Regions from separate parts of the Homo sapiens genome. Here regions 2, 3 and 4 are each linked to region 1. Evidence: promoter capture Hi-C in 16 types of primary human blood cells and fetal thymus (Javierre and others, 2016). All regions are on one chromosome and are shown on one strand. The core of a region is centred on a gene start or on the middle of the fragment in contact, and the rest is flanking DNA. Distances in the headings are between cores, read along the strand shown. Region 1 holds the start of AAMP (angio associated migratory cell protein). Region 2 overlaps SMARCAL1 (SNF2 related chromatin remodeling annealing helicase 1). Region 3 overlaps RPL37A-DT (RPL37A divergent transcript). Region 4 holds the start of CHPF (chondroitin polymerizing factor).

The links. Contacts are between HindIII fragments. The CHiCAGO score rates a contact against its expected background, and 5 or more counts as called.
Region 2: a fragment that was not itself captured here is called in contact with the fragment with the promoter of AAMP in region 1 in 2 of 17 cell types (fetal thymus and non-activated CD4 T cells); the score reaches 8.8 in fetal thymus.
Region 3: a contact is called between a fragment that was not itself captured here and the fragment with the promoter of AAMP in region 1, in 2 of 17 cell types (fetal thymus and total B cells). The highest score is 7.7, in fetal thymus.
Region 4: the fragment with the promoter of CHPF here is called in contact with the fragment with the promoter of AAMP in region 1 in 2 of 17 cell types (naive CD8 T cells and naive CD4 T cells); the score reaches 6.4 in naive CD8 T cells.

Annotation. Positions count from the first base shown.
Region 1 is chr2:218,268,199-218,272,203 of GRCh38, forward strand. It overlaps AAMP (angio associated migratory cell protein), which reads right to left and starts at 1,939. Exons shown (of 11, transcript NM_001087.5): 1 at 1,768-1,939; 2 at 1,184-1,336. The coding sequence starts at 1,888. PNKD (PNKD metallo-beta-lactamase domain containing) reads left to right here and starts at 2,321. Exons shown (of 10, transcript NM_015488.5): 1 at 2,321-2,404; 2 at 3,183-3,351. The coding sequence starts at 2,338. RefSeq lists enhancers at 232-1,117, 1,686-2,005, 2,156-2,535, 2,566-2,615. The HindIII fragment of the contact is 1,112 bases long and covers 1,828-2,939 here.
Region 2 is chr2:216,414,396-216,418,400 of GRCh38, forward strand. SMARCAL1 (SNF2 related chromatin remodeling annealing helicase 1) reads left to right here. Exons shown (of 18, transcript NM_014140.4): 3 at 252-1,120; 4 at 1,862-1,912. The coding sequence starts at 310. Among named protein-coding and RNA genes, the nearest start is that of SMARCAL1-AS1, 3.9 kb to the left of the region's middle. RefSeq lists an enhancer at 3,359-3,418. The HindIII fragment of the contact is 220 bases long and covers 1,800-2,019 here.
Region 3 is chr2:216,492,985-216,496,989 of GRCh38, forward strand. The region is part of intron 1 of RPL37A-DT (RPL37A divergent transcript); the gene reads right to left. Among named protein-coding and RNA genes, the nearest start is that of RPL37A-DT, 3.8 kb to the right of the region's middle. RefSeq lists a silencer at 3,105-3,174. The HindIII fragment of the contact is 4,737 bases long and covers 1-4,005 here.
Region 4 is chr2:219,541,576-219,545,580 of GRCh38, forward strand. It overlaps CHPF (chondroitin polymerizing factor), which reads right to left and starts at 2,234. Exons shown (of 4, transcript NM_024536.6): 1 at 1,650-2,234; 2 at 41-614. The coding sequence starts at 1,963. It overlaps TMEM198 (transmembrane protein 198), which reads left to right and starts at 2,453. Exons shown (of 5, transcript NM_001005209.3): 1 at 2,453-2,802; 2 at 3,114-3,318. The coding sequence starts at 3,153. RefSeq lists silencers at 1,666-1,755, 1,766-2,475, 2,516-2,655. The HindIII fragment of the contact is 11,388 bases long and covers 635-4,005 here.

The DNA of each region.
Region 1 (4,005 bases), core at 689-3,188:
CCTTCTGATCCACCCGCCTCGGCCTCCCAAAGTGCTGGGATTACAGGCATGAGCCACCGTGCCTGGCAACAGTTTCTTACTAAGAACTAGCACTTGAGAAAGTTATATAAAATATGCTCAAAAAGATATAATTATCTCTCATTTTATTTTATTTTTTTGAGATGGAATCTTGCTCTGTCGCCCAGGCCGAAGCGCAGTGGCACAATCTCAGCTCAATGCAACCTCTGCCTCCCAGGTTCAAGTGATTCTCCTTCCTCAGCCTCCGGAGTAGCTGGGATTACAGGCACATGCCACCACACCCAGCTAATTTTTTTTTTATTTTTAGTAGAGATGAGGTTTCACCATGTCGGCCAGGCTGGTCTTGAACTCCCGACCTCAGGTGATCCACCCGCCTTGGCCTTCCAAAGTGCTGTGATTACAGGCATGAGCCACCGCACCTGGCCAATTATCTCTAATTTTATACTCACTACTTTTATTAACTTTTATCAAAGATAACTTTTTTTTTTTTTTTTTTTTTGGAGACAGACTCTCATTCTGTTGCCCAGGCTGGAGTGCAATGGCGCAGTCTTGGTCCACTGCAACCTCCGCCTCCCGGGTTCAAGCAATTCTCCTGCCTCAACCTCCCGAGGAGCTGGGACTACAGGCGCCCGCTACCACGCCCAGCTAATTTTTGTATTTTTAGTAGAGACGGGGTTTCACCATATTGGCCAGGCTGGTCTGGAACTCCCGACCTTGTGATCCGCCTGCCTGGGCCTCCTAAAGTGCTGGGATTACAGGCGTGAGCCACCATGCCCAGCCAAATTTTTGTATTTTTAGTAGAGACTGGGTTTTGCCATGTTGGCCAGGCTGGTCTCGAACTCCTGACCTCAAGTGATCCACCTGCCTCAGCCTCCTAAAGTGCTGGGATTTCAGGAGTGAGCCACCACGCCCGGCCAAAGATAACTTTTTAAAAGAAAACTAAGAGGTTAATCAAGGTTAACTGGCAAAGTAGAGGGTGTCTCGACTGATGCCAGAAGCCAAGCAATCATCCATTCTGCCACACTTTCCCACCTGTGGGCTCCTCCAGCGCAAGGCCAGCATCTTGCCCATCTCTGTGTCCCCCATAACGTTCTGTCCATGGCTGATGTTTAATGCTTACACGCCCACCTAAACTGATTTGAGGTGGATCGCCTCAAAGACCTACCTGAGTGCAATGCAAAGGTGACCTCGCTATCGTCGGGGCCCTCCATGCTGCCGACCACCCCTTCCTGGGGTTCTAGAACCCAGCCCTCTTCGTTGCCCTCTTCCTCCTCTTCTTCCTCAAAGTCCACATCTTCCATCTCCTGGGCCAGGTCATCTGCTTTGGGGAGAGGGTTAGAAGATGGGGCTCGGGAGGCGGTAAGAGGTACGGAGAGAAGCATGAGGAGGCCTGAGGCTGGGGCGGGTCATGTGGCGAGAAGGGAAGGTGGAGTCAGACACACCGGGGTCCGCGGGGGCGCGCGGGACACAGGACGGGAGGCCACGGCTGGCCAGAGACCGTGCGGTAAGGGAGGGCCAAGGGGATGATGGGAAGGGGGTGTGTGAGGGGAAGGGCCAGAGGAGGCGTCAGGGAACCCCCACCCCAGCCAGGCCTGAGAACTAAGTGTGAGGGTGGGAGTGGGGGAGGAGGGGAAGAGGGATATCGGTAGGAATGACCAGTCGGGTGTGGAGGGGAGCGGGGAAAAGCAGGAGTCAGAGGCCAGGGGTGAGCGTCTCCTGTCCCATGGCCTGAGGAGCGGCAGTTCTCACCTGGGTCCGGCGGACCGGGATCAAGTTCTACCACCTCGATAATCTCTTCATCACCATGGAAGCTTAGGGTCTCCAGTGGGGGGGTGTCAGCAGCAGCCCCGCTTTCCGATTCGGACTCCATGCGGCGCAAGCGGCGGATCCACTTCTCTGGGCCCAAACGCCTCCCAGAGTCAGCTCTGCGCGACGACGCGGAACTCGAGCCCCTCCTCCCGGCAGGAAGTAGGCGTAGGCGACTCCCCAGCAGGAAGAGCGACGGCCGTTCGGCCAATAGCTACGAAGGTTGGCTGGCCGCCTCACCAATCACAGAGCGGCATTGGAAGATGGGGCCGGGGCGTGGCGGAGAGAACCCAAACTCCGCCCCACCTGACTCCGCCCCCAACTGGAGGGAAACAAGCGAGCGCGCGCGCCTCCGGGGTCTCCTGGGAAGAGTAGTTCTCCTGGGTCCGCTCTGCGGGCTTCTGGGAGATGTAGTTTCTGGTCTGTAGGCAGGACGGAAGGAGCGGGGGAGGCCCCTTACGCAAACTACAATTCCCGGCGGGGAGCGCGGTGAAGCGGGGGTGGGATCTGAACATGGCGGCGGTGGTAGCTGCTACGGCGCTGAAGGGCCGGGGGGCGAGAAATGCCCGCGTCCTCCGGGGTAAGGAGAGGGACCCCGGGGAGGGCAGGACTGCAGAAGATCCCTTTTCTTTCACGTCCAGCCCGACGATAGCAGGAGGTCAGGGCTCTTGGTTCCTCCCCACACTTTTCTGCAAGATCTTAGAGTCTGGGGGTGCAGAGATGCTCTTTAGAGGTCACCCAGTGCATCCCCCCGCCTTCGGGTTGCTCGACACCTCCGGGGTCTTGCTGCAAGAGGGAGCTCCTAGGAAGCCTGTTGGACTCCCGCGCTCCAGGTGTTTCACACTCACCGCAGTGCAGAGGAAAGAGCCCCGGGCTTCTGGAGGTTTGAGTTCCAGCCCCGGATAATTAGCAGTTTGACCTTGGGCAAAGCAGTTTTTCTCTCAGGGCTTCAGTTTCCTCTTCCGTACAGTGCAAGGGATGGAGTAGACTATCTTTAAGGTCCCTTCCAGTGCTAACATTTGCAGTTTCAAAACCTTTTCCCGGATTTCCTTCATACGTCTTATGTGAGTCCCACTGCAGTCCTTCCCATGCTGTCGTCTGAGGAAGAACAGCGAAGCTTTTCGTCCTGGCACCAGGGTGATGAGCCCGCAGTGACGTGGAAGTGGCTTCCAAAGGTGCCACCTCGGTGGCGATTTTCCCATTTCCCTTTGGATTCTCCTTGGCACTTCTTACTTCAGACTGCAGTCACTCCCCTTCCCCAGATCTCAGCCGCTCCTCCCAAGCCCTTACTGCCCCCCACCTCCCCGCTTGCTTTCTTCTCATCTCTTCTTACTGACCTTCCTTACCTCCATCCACAGGGATTCTCGCAGGAGCCACAGCTAACAAGGCTTCTCATAACAGGACCCGGGCCCTGCAAAGCCACAGCTCCCCAGAGGGCAAGGAGGAACCTGAACCCCTATCCCCGGAGCTGGAATACATTCCCAGAAAGAGGGGCAAGAACCCCATGAAAGCTGTGGGACTGGCCTGGTGAGTTTTAACCACCCCTTTGCCCACCAACGGGGCGTGGCTTGTAGGGGAGGGCAGGACTTAGAAACTTCTCCAAGTTTCAGGTGGCGAGCTGAATCCAAAGTTGTGGGAACAGAATTGTTGGGTTCGATTGGAATCTCAGAGGGGTGGGGCAGTGGAGGTGGGAAAGTATGTGGAATTGAGAAGACAGTGGGTTTACTGTGGAGTAAGCTGAGTTGATCTGATTCAGACTTGGGTCCCTGGCCTCATCCTCCCTTTTGGGAGCTTGGAGTGAGACCCAAGTTTAAGTAAGTAGTTCGTTGAGATCATGTGAGCTTGTACTAGTTGTATAGTAGTACTCAGAAGGCGTTATGAACATTGTGATTGGGCTCTGACTCTGACCTTAATACATATTATTGACCAATATTAAAGAGAAAGGAGGAAGAAATCAACATTTTTTTCTGCATGTGAGGTGTGCCAGTACTTTGCCATGTAATGTTTTAGTGTTTGAGATAAGTATTACATCCCCATTTCACAGAGGAAGGAACTGAGACTGAGCTAGGATTCTCACCTAGTCTGTGACTCCATGCTCTTTCCCCCATACCAAAGTGCCTCCCAAGCAGTGGTTACTTAGCTTAAGAGGGGAAAACTGGGAGGGTACCTTGGCCAAGTCTC
Region 2 (4,005 bases), core at 660-3,159, 1.9 Mb before region 1:
ATCCACCTGCCTCAGCTTCCCAAAGTGCTGGGATTACACCCGACCTGCTTTTTGCTTTTTGATCAGGGTCTTTATTTCAGCATATGCTGCCTACTATTTCAGTGTGTGTGCAATTATAAAAGAAACTTTAATACATCCTTTAGTTGTGCTCATTATGCATTTTCTGGGACAAAAGCTTGTTAAAATCATGGTTGGAGTATGACAATTAATACATGTAATGTTCATTTCATTCTTCTTACTTTCTTCCACAGCTTTTGCCAACTTTCCAATTAAAGGTTGACATTCCTGCATAAGCATTTCTCTGTGAAAATGTCCTTGCCTCTTACAGAGGAGCAGAGGAAAAAGATTGAAGAGAATCGACAAAAGGCTCTGGCCCGCAGAGCTGAGAAGTTATTGGCAGAACAGCATCAGAGGACTAGCTCGGGCACCTCCATTGCTGGCAACCCATTCCAGGCCAAGCAAGGCCCATCCCAAAATTTCCCAAGGGAGTCTTGTAAGCCAGTGAGCCATGGTGTCATTTTCAAGCAACAGAATCTCAGTAGCTCATCTAATGCTGACCAAAGACCTCATGATTCCCACAGTTTTCAGGCAAAGGGAATATGGAAAAAGCCAGAAGAAATGCCCACAGCCTGCCCAGGCCACAGTCCACGTAGTCAAATGGCTCTCACTGGAATCTCTCCTCCCTTGGCACAAAGTCCTCCAGAGGTCCCTAAACAACAGCTCTTGAGTTATGAGTTAGGTCAAGGTCATGCTCAGGCTTCACCTGAGATCAGGTTCACACCCTTTGCTAACCCAACTCATAAGCCTCTGGCCAAACCAAAGAGTTCCCAAGAGACACCAGCTCATTCCTCTGGACAGCCTCCCAGGGATGCTAAGTTAGAGGCCAAGACAGCAAAAGCCTCCCCTTCGGGGCAGAACATTTCTTACATCCATTCTAGCTCAGAGAGTGTAACGCCCAGGACAGAAGGAAGACTCCAGCAGAAGTCAGGGTCCTCAGTCCAAAAAGGAGTGAACTCTCAGAAGGGAAAGTGCGTAAGGAACGGCGATCGTTTCCAGGTGTTGATTGGGTACAATGCGGAACTCATTGCAGTGTTTAAGACCCTGCCCAGCAAGAATTATGGTAATGTCTTCATTTTTCAGCTGTTTTTTTTTTTTTTTCTTATTTTTGGAGTCTCTTTTAATCTAACAGTTTCTCATAAATATTAAGAGAGTGCATTGGCACATGCTGTCCATCCAGTTGTTAAAAATTTTTCAATTTTAGCTTGTTTCCCTTCATAATAGTCATTCCCTTAAACAGCTGCCAAACTTGATGGTTGTCACGTGGCCATCTGGAGAACAGTTGAATGTTACTGAGAAGACGCTTCCTCTGCCAGGTGCTTTATATGCATTGTAGCACTTAAGCTGAACAGCAGTTTTTTTGAAATAAGTAGATGTTATTTTAGTTTTTAAGGTGATGGAACTGGCCCAGCAAGATTAAGTGACAGGCCCAGTTTCATTGGTCTGGAAAGGCAGCGTCAGGATGTGACTAGCTCAATTACAGGCCAGAGCCATTACTCCTCATACTGCTTTGCCTGACCACACTACGACCTGGAGAACTTGGATTCTAGTCCTAACTCTGCCCTCAGTCCTCTTAGGTGAAGTTCATAACTTCCCAGGGCCTGAGTTGGATTCCACTACATGGAATAAAAGAATTATCTATATTTACTATTTGTCCTCTACAGAGATTTTTATAGATCAGTGGGGGCTTGCTGGTCAGCTGTTTTGAACTTGGCGTCCTTCATTCATTCATTTAGAAGACAAGCTTGTGTTGAGTGCCTAAGTACAAATTGTCAACAGTCATCAGTCCTCTGTTTTGTTTCAGATCCTGACACCAAGACGTGGAACTTCAGCATGAATGACTATAGTGCCCTGAGTAAGTAGACACATGGTTGTCTCATGGAGGGTGGCACTGGTGCTGAAAATCTTTAGAGTATCACATGTAGTCCAGCTTATGGAGTGCATGGCTTTACAGGTGGTGAAAGCTTTCAGGGCACCCCCCCCAACACTCCTTCCCACTCTGTCTAGCCTAATGAGGCAGCTCTGTGGGTGAAGGCCGTTAGTAGTATTAACAAAAGCTAGCATTAAATGATGCTTGCTTTGCATTAGGCTATTCTAAGCCCCTTATGCTAACTTTTATTCCTTATAATGACTTTTTTACAGATGGGGAAACTGAGGCCCAGGGACGATGAGTCAGTAACACAGGGTCACATAGCCAATAAGTTGTACAACTGGGATTCAAACCCTGACAGTCTGACTTCAGACTACACGTTCCCACCAGACTATGCTGGCCCCAGCAGTGACAGGCAGCTCAGGCAGCCTGCCAGCCCCTGCTCCCAGGAAGGTAACAGTTCAGCAAACAGCACAGATCCTCAGAGTACTCTCTGTGCAGCTAACTACTCAAAAATGCAAGGAGGGGGCATTGGCCAGGCAAGTTCCAGCTAATGCAGTGTCTGGTCATAGTCAGCACCTGGTTACGTCCCTCTGTCTTCTGAGAAAACTGTCATACACTAAAGTTTTTGTCACTTGATCCTGGTACATGGAGCTTGCACACCTGTGTCAAAGCGTCAGCCCTGTGTGTTTTCATCTTCCATTTATTTTACTCTTCTCCCCCAGCTGCCATTTCTACACCGTCTCTTCCTCCCCCTAGCTTAAGAAAGGAAAAGATAAGGATGTATGCTTAGGTCACTTTGCAGATTTGGGGTATGAGGTAGGATTATCTGGAGGCACCAGTACAGTTTCTGGGAAAGGTGGTTTGGGCCAGTGATGGGACAGCTCCCTGCAGAATTTCCTGGTTTTCTCCTTGGCCTCCAATTCTTGAAATGTGTACATTAGGCGATATCTTTCTTTGGTAGCTGCTAGTGTTGTTAGTTTGCGAGGGCTGCCGTGACAAAGTACCACTGACTGGGTGGCTTAAACAATACAAATTTATTTTTTACAGTCCTGGAGGCTGGAAGCCTGAGATTGGTAGGGTTGGTTTCTTCAGAGGCCTCTCTCCATGCCCTGCAGGTGGCTGTCTTCTCTCTGTGTCCTTGTTTGGATTTTCCTTTGTGTGTGCAAATCCCTAGGGTCTCTCCCTTTTCTTAGAAGAACACCAGTCATTGGATTATCGCCCACCTTGGTGACCTCATTTAACTTATTAACCTCTTTAAAGGCCCTATCTCCATATACAATCACATTCTGAGGTCCTGGGCTGTGTGTTTAACATGAATTTTGGAGGGACACAATTCAACCCATAACGCTGCTGCTGCTAGCTCCGTCTAGTGAGGGCTCATTTTTTAATCGATTTATTTGGTGTTGGAACGGGGAGACCCAAGGCTCTGGATAAAGATTGCAGATTTTGACACCTGGTATTCTCATTGCTGGTGATCTTAAACCAGTGGTTTCCCCTGTTGCGGTTGTTTTGTCTTTTTACTCTTGTTCTGACCACGGTGCATGGTGACTTAGATGACTTCTGCTTTTGCAGATTCATTTAGGTTTTTTGTGTGATATCGTTACTTTTTTTTTGAGACAGAGTCTCACTCTGTCGCCCAGGCTGGAGTGCAGTGGTGCGATCTTGGCTCCCTGCAACCTCTGGCTTCCGGGTTCAAGTGATTCTCCTGCCTCAGCCTCCTGAGTAGCTGGGATTTCAGGCGTGTACCATGCCTGGCTAATTTTTATATTTTTAGTAGAGATGGGGCTTCCTCCATGTTGGCCAGGCTGGTCTTGAACCCCTGACCTCAGGTGATCTACCTGCCTCAGCCTCTAAAACTGTTGGGATTATAGATGTGAGACACTGTGCCCGACTATCATTGCTTTGTGTAATGCTCCACATGTTTTGAAAACCATGTTTATTGGATACAAAATTCTCCATATATACTTCTCAATGAAGCTCATAGAAGAGAAAAAAAATTCTCCATATAGCTTTCAGATGAATTTTTCTAATTGTTTGGCTCCTCTGCATCTTTACCAATGTGTTACACACTTGAG
Region 3 (4,005 bases), core at 1,065-3,564, 1.8 Mb before region 1:
ACAATTTCCTCCTATTATGGAGTGTCTCATTTTCAGCCGCTTACTGCATTCCTACTCATGCATTCCCTCTTCTCTTGCTCTCTCTCTCAGACCCCCCTGAAGGCCAGAGACGTAGGAGGCTCTGCAGCGGAGGGCGTGGGGGAGGCAGCACATTTGCTAAATGATGATCTGAATTAGGCTCTAGTGCCAGCCCAGGATGGCTCACCTCAGCTCTGCCTGGACTGCCCCAGCATGAAGCTGACTCACCCACTCCCCAGCTCAATTGAGCACCATCCTGTGTGGCCAAGAGGCACAGTCTGAAAAGGGAGGATCATGGTGAGCATTTGTTTAAGACTCCTTCCACTAGTCTCCTTTGTTTGTATCAACATGGATATATTTTTGTTTTAATTTATAGTTTTCTGGAGGCAGGCATTGCTTGGGTGGAGAGCTTTCCAGATAACATCCCTGAAATGCAGTGCATTTCCCTTCTGAGGGAAGAGGGACTTGTTCCCTTGGCCCCTTGCCATCTTCCACCCTAACCTATGGGGGCAGAGGGTGCATGAGGCCTGTGGTGGAAGAGAAACATCTTGGGCACATCTCACTCCCTTTGTGGGCCTCAAGCGGCATCAGTTACCATGACTGTAGTGGTTTCATTGTGTCCAAGCTAAAGAAATTAAGGAGAAAAGAGATGGGCATATTTTTAAGGGAAAGAAGAAGGCAGATCTTCTGTACTTCCTTGAGTATGGCAGAAGAGGAGAGAGGATTGAAAAGGCAGAAAGAGATGTTGAAATCAGGTAGCAGCAGCAGCAGCAGCAGCATCTCAACAAACATACTGGCCACTATTTTAAAATGTTCACTAGACACTTCATGGAAGTTATTTTATCTTCCTGAGACCCTTTATTGTACAGTATACTCATTTTGCAGCTGCGGAAAGAGACTTAGAGACTTGAATCATGTGATACAGTGGAGCGAACACACGTTTATGTGTCACTTAATGGCTATGTGACCTTGGGCAAGTCATTTGACCCCCCGGGCCTCAGTTTCCAGTTTGGGCTACATTATCTCTAAAGCCTTTTTCAGTTCTGACATAACTGGACTGACTTTACAAAGCAGAGAAACCCAAACACATGAAACGCTTCATATACCCATCACCATTATACCATGCAAGGTAACAATCCCCCATTCAACAGACATTACTGCTGACACGTCAGGCTCTTGTATAGGTCCTGGGATGCAGAGGTGAACAACACAAGCCCTGTCCTCATGGAATTGACTTGTGGTGACCTCCTTGGGTGGTGGTGGTGGTTGTTTTAAAATAGACTTTATTTTGTAGAACAGTTTTATAGTTATATAAAAAAATTGAGGAGAGAGTATTTTTGTATACCCTTACCCAATTTTCTCTATTGTTAACTTTTTTTTTTTTTTTTTTTTTTTTGAGATGAAGTCTTGCTCTGTCGCCCAGGCTGGAGTGCAGTGGCACGATCTCAACTCACTCCACCTCCACCTCCCAGGTTCAAGCAATTCTCCTGCCTCAGCCTCCCGAGTAGCTGGGATTATAGGCATGTGCCACCATGCCTGGCTAATTTTTTGTATTTTTAGTAGAGATAGGGTTTCACTGTGTTAGCCAGGATGGTCTCAATCTCCTGACCTCGAGATCTGCCTGCCTCAGCTTCTCAAAGTGCTGGGATTACAGGCGTGACCCACCGCGCCCGGCAACATCTTAACATTAGTATGGTAAATTGGTTACAATTCATAAAGCAAGATTAATACATTATTATGACCTAAAGTCTGTAGTTTATTCGGATCTTCCTAGTTTTTAACGTATTGTCTTTTTTTTGTTCTAAGATTTCATGTTACATTTAGTCATCATGTCACCTTACGCTCCTCTTGGCTGTGACAGTTACTCAGGCTTTCCTGGTTTGACAGTTTTAAGGAGCCCTGGTCAGGTATATTGAAGGATGTCCCTCTTTTGGAATTTGTCTATTGTTCTCATGATTAGACTGAGGTTATGGGTTTTGGGAGAAAGATCACAGAGGCAAAGTGCCATTTTCATTCCACATCAAGGGGACATAGTAACAAGATTATCACTGTTGATGTTGACCTTCATCACCTTGGCTGAGGTCGTGTTGGCTATAAAGTTACTCTTTTTTCCCCTTTCTATACTGTGCTCTTTGGAAGGAAGTCATTCTGTGCAGCCCACACTTAGGGAGTGGGGAGTTATGCTCACCCTCCTTGAGAGCAGAATATCCACATAAATTATTTGAAATTCTTCTTGGCCGGGTGCAGTGGCTCACACCTGTAATCCCAGCACTTTGGGAGGTCGAGGAGGGTGGATCACGAGGTCAGGAGTTCAAGACCAGCCTGGCCGTTATGGTGAAGCCCCGTCTCTACTAAAAATACAAAAATTAGCTGGGTGTGGTGGTGCATGCCTGTAGTCCCAGCTGCTCAGCAGGCTGAGGCAGGAGACTTGCTTGAACCCAGGAGGCAGAGGTTGCAGTGCGCCCAGATCATACCACTGCACTCCAGCCTGGGCGACAGAGCAAGACTCGGTCTCAAAAAAAGAAAAAATAAATTCTTCTGCAAAAGAGAGTTGCCTCTTGTCTTTCATTTATTTAGTCTATCATTTATTTATATCCACATGGACCCATGGATATTTATTTTACACTTGGGTTAAATCAATACTACCTTATTTATTGCTCAAAATTTTCTAGCTTTGGCCATTCGGAGTTCTTTCAGTTGACTCCTGTGTCTCTCTGACATATCCCCATCAGTGTAGGGTTTTCTGAACATTTCCTTACTTTCTGGCACAAGATACTGCAGGCTCGCCTTGTATATTTCCTGCTGCAGTCCTAGAATGAGTCACTTCTCTAAGGGGCCCTGGTTCCTTTTATTAAAGAATGATATTATAAACCAAGATCTGGGGTCTGGGCATGGTGGCTCATGCCTGAAATGCCAGCACTCTGGAAGACTGAGGCTGGAGGATTGCTTGAACCCAGGAGTTCCAGACCAGCCTGGGCAACATGGCAAGACTGTCTCTACAAAAATAAAAAAATTATTTGGGCACTACTCAGGAGACTGTGGTGAAAGGACTGCTTGAGCCTGGGGAGGTCAAGGCTATAGTGAGCTGTGATCACACCACTGCACACCAGCCTGGGGAACAGAGCAAGACCCTGTCTCAAAACAAAACAAAACAAATAAAAACAAACCCTGAGATCTGGGGCAGTAGGTATACTCGTCGTTACTGGAGATGTTTGGGGTTTTTTTTTTAATGGTAGTTTTTTTAGATTATAAAAGAAACACATGCTCATTATAAAAGATAATTAGAAAATGCAAAAAATGTATGCAAAAATCAATTTGACTATTCCCACTATCCACTACTTTTTGCTTTTTCTCCTCCTTGAATTTACACAGCCAGAGCTGGAATAACAGATTGGGGAGGATAAAGAGACAACTACCTTTATTCCACAAAATTGTGCAAGATGTGCTGACATAAAGCACATGGTGGGTCACTGCCCCAGTGGCACTCAAAGTCTGGAAGCTCTTCCTGGAATCATAGGAGGGAAGAACTGGACAGGACCTTGAAGACCACCTGGTCCAGCTCCTTGTAAATAAAGATGGTGGCTGCTGGGAGGTGGGGAGGTGGTTCTCCATGTGGGGACTGTGGCTTACCTAAAGTCAAACCACAAGGTAGTTACAGATCCTGGCCCAGACTGAGTGCCAGGGACCTGATTTTAATTCAACTATGTTTTCTGATGTGCTTTTTCAGTGCACTAAATATTATGATTTGGCGTAGTACAAGCTAGCAATTAGGAGAACTAACTTTGGGATCAGACAGACCAGATTTGAGTTCTAATTGCTGTGTGACATTGAGCAAGTTTCTTAACTTCCCTGAGATGAGTTTCTTTTTTCTTTCTTTTTTTGTTTTTGTTTTGAGAAAGGATCTCACTCTGTTGTCCAGGTTGGAGTGAAATGGTGTGATCATAGCTCACTGTAACCTCTGAACTCCTGGGCTCAAGCAATCCTCAC
Region 4 (4,005 bases), core at 984-3,483, 1.3 Mb after region 1:
CATGACAAGGAGGTATCAGTGGGATAGCTTATCATCCCACCTCGTGGTCACCAGTGCAGCCCACCCCGGTGGCATCGAGAATGCAGCGACCCAGCCACTCGTCAGGGCGCGCACTGACGATGTCGTTGCGGCAGCCTTCCAGGTGGGGGCGCAGTTGTTGCAGCAGCATGCGCGACAGCAGCACCCCAAAGCCTCCGTGGCAGTAGCGGCCGGGGGTGGGCTCTCCGCCGATGAAGTCCTGGGGCCGGCCCAGGTACAGGTGGGCGGCGGAGGCCAGGCTGAGGTGGCCAGTTAGGCGTGCCAGGCCGTGCGCCTCGGTGTAGGTGGTGTCAGGCACCAGGAAGAACCAGTCAAAGTCGTCGCCGTGCTGCTCCAGCAGGTGGCGCAGCGCCAGGTGCAGGTGTCCAATGGGTCGCTCCTCGCCTAGCGTCACCACTGCCATGCCAGGTGGGGCCCGGCGGCCCCGTGCGCCCGTCAGGAACACCACACGCTCCAGCCGGTGCCCCAGCGTGCGGTTCACGGCCACGCCCAGCGTGGGCAGCGTGGTCTGAGAGGTCAGCACCGCCACCAGCAGCCTCTGCCTGATGCCCAGCTCCGTGCTGATGTAGCGGGTCCTAGGGGAGGAGATGGCACAAGCTTATCAAAAGGACAACGGGGCGGGGGGTGGGGGGGAGGTGGTCAGCACAGACCCTGGCAGGTCACGTCTTCTCTGTATCTGTTCTCTCACCTATGAATAGGTTAAAAATAAACCCTCTCTCCCAGGGGTCATGAGGATTTAAACGAAATGGTCTTAAACAGGTAGTGCTTTGCATTTGGGAGATGGCAATACCCACCCAGATAGGAGAGAGATATTGTGGGTCTGACTCCGGGGTTCGCTACTTAGTAGTTATGTCCTTGAGCATGTTATTTAACCTGAGCCATCTGTAAAATGGGACTGATTATATCTGTTTAAAGCACCCAGCCAAACGCTGGACACACCATGTATCTACTCATTTCTATATAAATATGCCATTATGCCACAAATGCCTCACATAAATGACATAAAGGAACGTTTGGCATAGGGGTGTACTGAGTGTTTTTGCGGGGAGGGGCAAACTGCACTCAGGGGCTCTAGGAACTTACCTTTTGGTAAGGCAGAAGGTAAATTGCAGAACCAGCATTTGAACCCAATGTTACTTAGAAGTTATTTCAACTCATCAGCAGAGACATTAATGAGATAGGTACATTCCTCCCTCCCCCATCTCACCCTGAGGTGGCCCTTGTAACCCACTCAGGAACAAGAGATCCAGGTAAATCCTAGTTCTCTCCTTTCTCTTCCCCTGTCTCTATACACTCACCCTATATATAAGTCATTTCTCTAACACCAGCAGCCCAGCCAGGGAGCTAGTAGGATCTCTGGGGCGCCATCGGGTCGAGCCGGTTTAGGACACAGTCCAGTAAGTTCAGCCCAGGCCGGGATAGGGCCCAGAGAAAGTCTCGGACTGGCCCCACGGCTCTCGGGAAGGCAGGGCCATCGGAAGTTATCGGGGCCCAAAGACTTCCTGGCTCGCCAGCCCCTTCCTTCCGGAGCCTGACCCGGGCCCGGGCGACCTCCCCGCGCGCTTCCCGGCCGCTGCCCAGGGGGTAGAGCGGGCGCAGCCGATCACTACCTGACGGCCTTTTTGGCGGCCTGGCCGGGCTGTGCAGGGTGGTAGGGCAAGACGCGCGGCTCCCAATTCTCCCCGGCGCCTTCGCCGGCCCCGGGCTTCTCGCGCTCCGCTCCGGGCTGCACCGAGTTGGGCCGGCGCGCCGCGTTGGTGTTGCCGCGCGGCGGCAGCTCAGAGTCTCCAGGTTGGGGCGGGCCTGGGCCGCACGGCTCCTCCACCCAGGTGACGCTGAGCAGGCTCAGGGTGAAGCCCAGGGAGATGCCCACGGCCACGGGCCCTGCGGGCCGCAGCACCGACAGCAGCAGCGATGCCCGCATGGCGCCCGGACCGCGGGTCCCCGGCCCCGGCGAACCCCCAGAGCAGCCAGAGGAGTCTCCGAGGGGGCGGGACCGGGGAGGGGGCGGATCCGGAGGGCTCGGGCCCCGCGGGCGGGCCCGCTCCCTCCCCGCAGAGCAGAGCCAGCGGCCCGAGCCGAATCCCCGGAGCCGCGCCTCGATTCCCCTCCAGCAGCTGCTCTGGGCTGCGCAGGGTTCTTGCGCTCGGCACTGGAGCCTCAGCCGCGGCCGCAGCTGTCCGACGTGTCACTGCAAGGGCCCCGCCCCCGGGGTGGGGTCTCGGGCTCTCGCTACCGGAGAGGGAGGAGAAGGGGGAGGTTAAAGGGGAAGGACCCCCGGAAGTGCCCCCTCCTCAGTGCGGGAGAGGGAGACGCCGGGGGCGGAGTCCCCTGCCTCCCGCGGCGTGGTTGGTGCGTCCCATGTGACGTCAGAAGCAGCCCGCCCCTGCCTGGATGGTGCGCCCTGAGTGACGTCAGGAGCAGAGGCCGGAGCTGTCCATCAGCACCAAAGGCCGCGGGCGGGCTCAGGGCATGGGGCCGCGGTTCTGGGGCGGCCCGAGCCCCGGCTCCTGCGCCTTCCCCTTCCTCAGGCCCAGCCCGAGTTCCCGGACGCCGCGGGACTGGAGTGCCAGCCGGTGTTGGACGTGGAGCGGCGCCGCCACCGCGCCGACACCATTCTCTCCGGCCCAGCAGCCCCCTTCCTCGCACGACGGACTTTCCCTGGACCCCAGTCAGTTGGAGCCTCTGGCGCCCCGCAACCCCGGCCCCTCGGGCCTCTGCACAGCCTCTTTCACTCAGAAGCTCAGGTCGCCTCCAGCCCAGGTAAATCTTGGACAATCCCATATTGAGCCGCCCACAGATGAATCTCTTGGCTGCCTCCTTCTCACTGGCAGCACGCTCCCTTCATCCCCCCGACTCCCGTCCCTCTTTTAACTTCATCCCAGCCTCCACTAGCCAGGCACTTTTGTTTCCCTTTGTCTTTGCTCCCCACTCCAGAGATGCTTCCGGAGCTGCACAAATGTGGATACTATTCCTTTGTCCACTGTCCTTGCTGAGTTCTCCCAATCCCTCTCCCACCCCCATCCTGGTGGGGACCCAGGACTCCTCCGTGACCCCAACTTTCCCTCTGTCAGGTTAACTTGGGAGGGTGACTCCCTTCTATTCCCAGCACTATGCCGGGGACTGTGGCAACACTGCGGTTCCAGCTGCTGCCCCCTGAGCCAGATGATGCCTTCTGGGGTGCACCTTGTGAACAGCCCCTGGAGCGCAGGTACCAGGCACTGCCGGCCCTCGTCTGCATCATGTGCTGTTTGTTTGGAGTCGTCTACTGCTTCTTCGGTGAGATCCCCATCTCATCCCTCACCTGGGCTCCCCAGTGTTTCCCCGAGTTCTTTTTCTGGGCCCCCAAGTCTTCTCTGAATCCCTCTACCATCATGAATAATTCTTCCTTTTCTTTCATCCCACACATTTATAGATTGTCTAGACTCTAGATTATAGGAAAAACAGGTTTTTGGATTAGGCACACCTGAGTGTGAATTTACTTAGCTTTGCAGTTACTAATTGTGATGTCTTGGGCACATTAATCTGTCTGAGCCTCAGTTTTCTCATCTGAACAATGATCACAATATTTGTCTCATGTAGTGTTGTAAGAATTAGTAAGCATTCAATAAATTGTAGCTATTGTGAGGATGTGTTTGGCTAACTGTGCTAGGTAGCCACTGAAAACACTTAGCAGGGTTATTACACATGGTCCCTTACCACAGGGCATATTGTCTGACAGGGAGGAGACTCCCTGGAGCATTTACACCTGGGATACATATTAGAGTGGGCTGGATGGTGGTCACACACATCCATCCAGCCTACAAGGCAGGCTCCGGTAATCAGAGCTGCTGTGAATACTTGTACAGGACGGGTACTAAATAAGGGAGCTCAGCTGAGTGGGCAAGTGGGGGCTAAAGTCCAGCTCATGCTCTGACAAACTCTGGGCCTTGGCACAAAGCTGCTTTGCCTAGAGAAAGGCACACC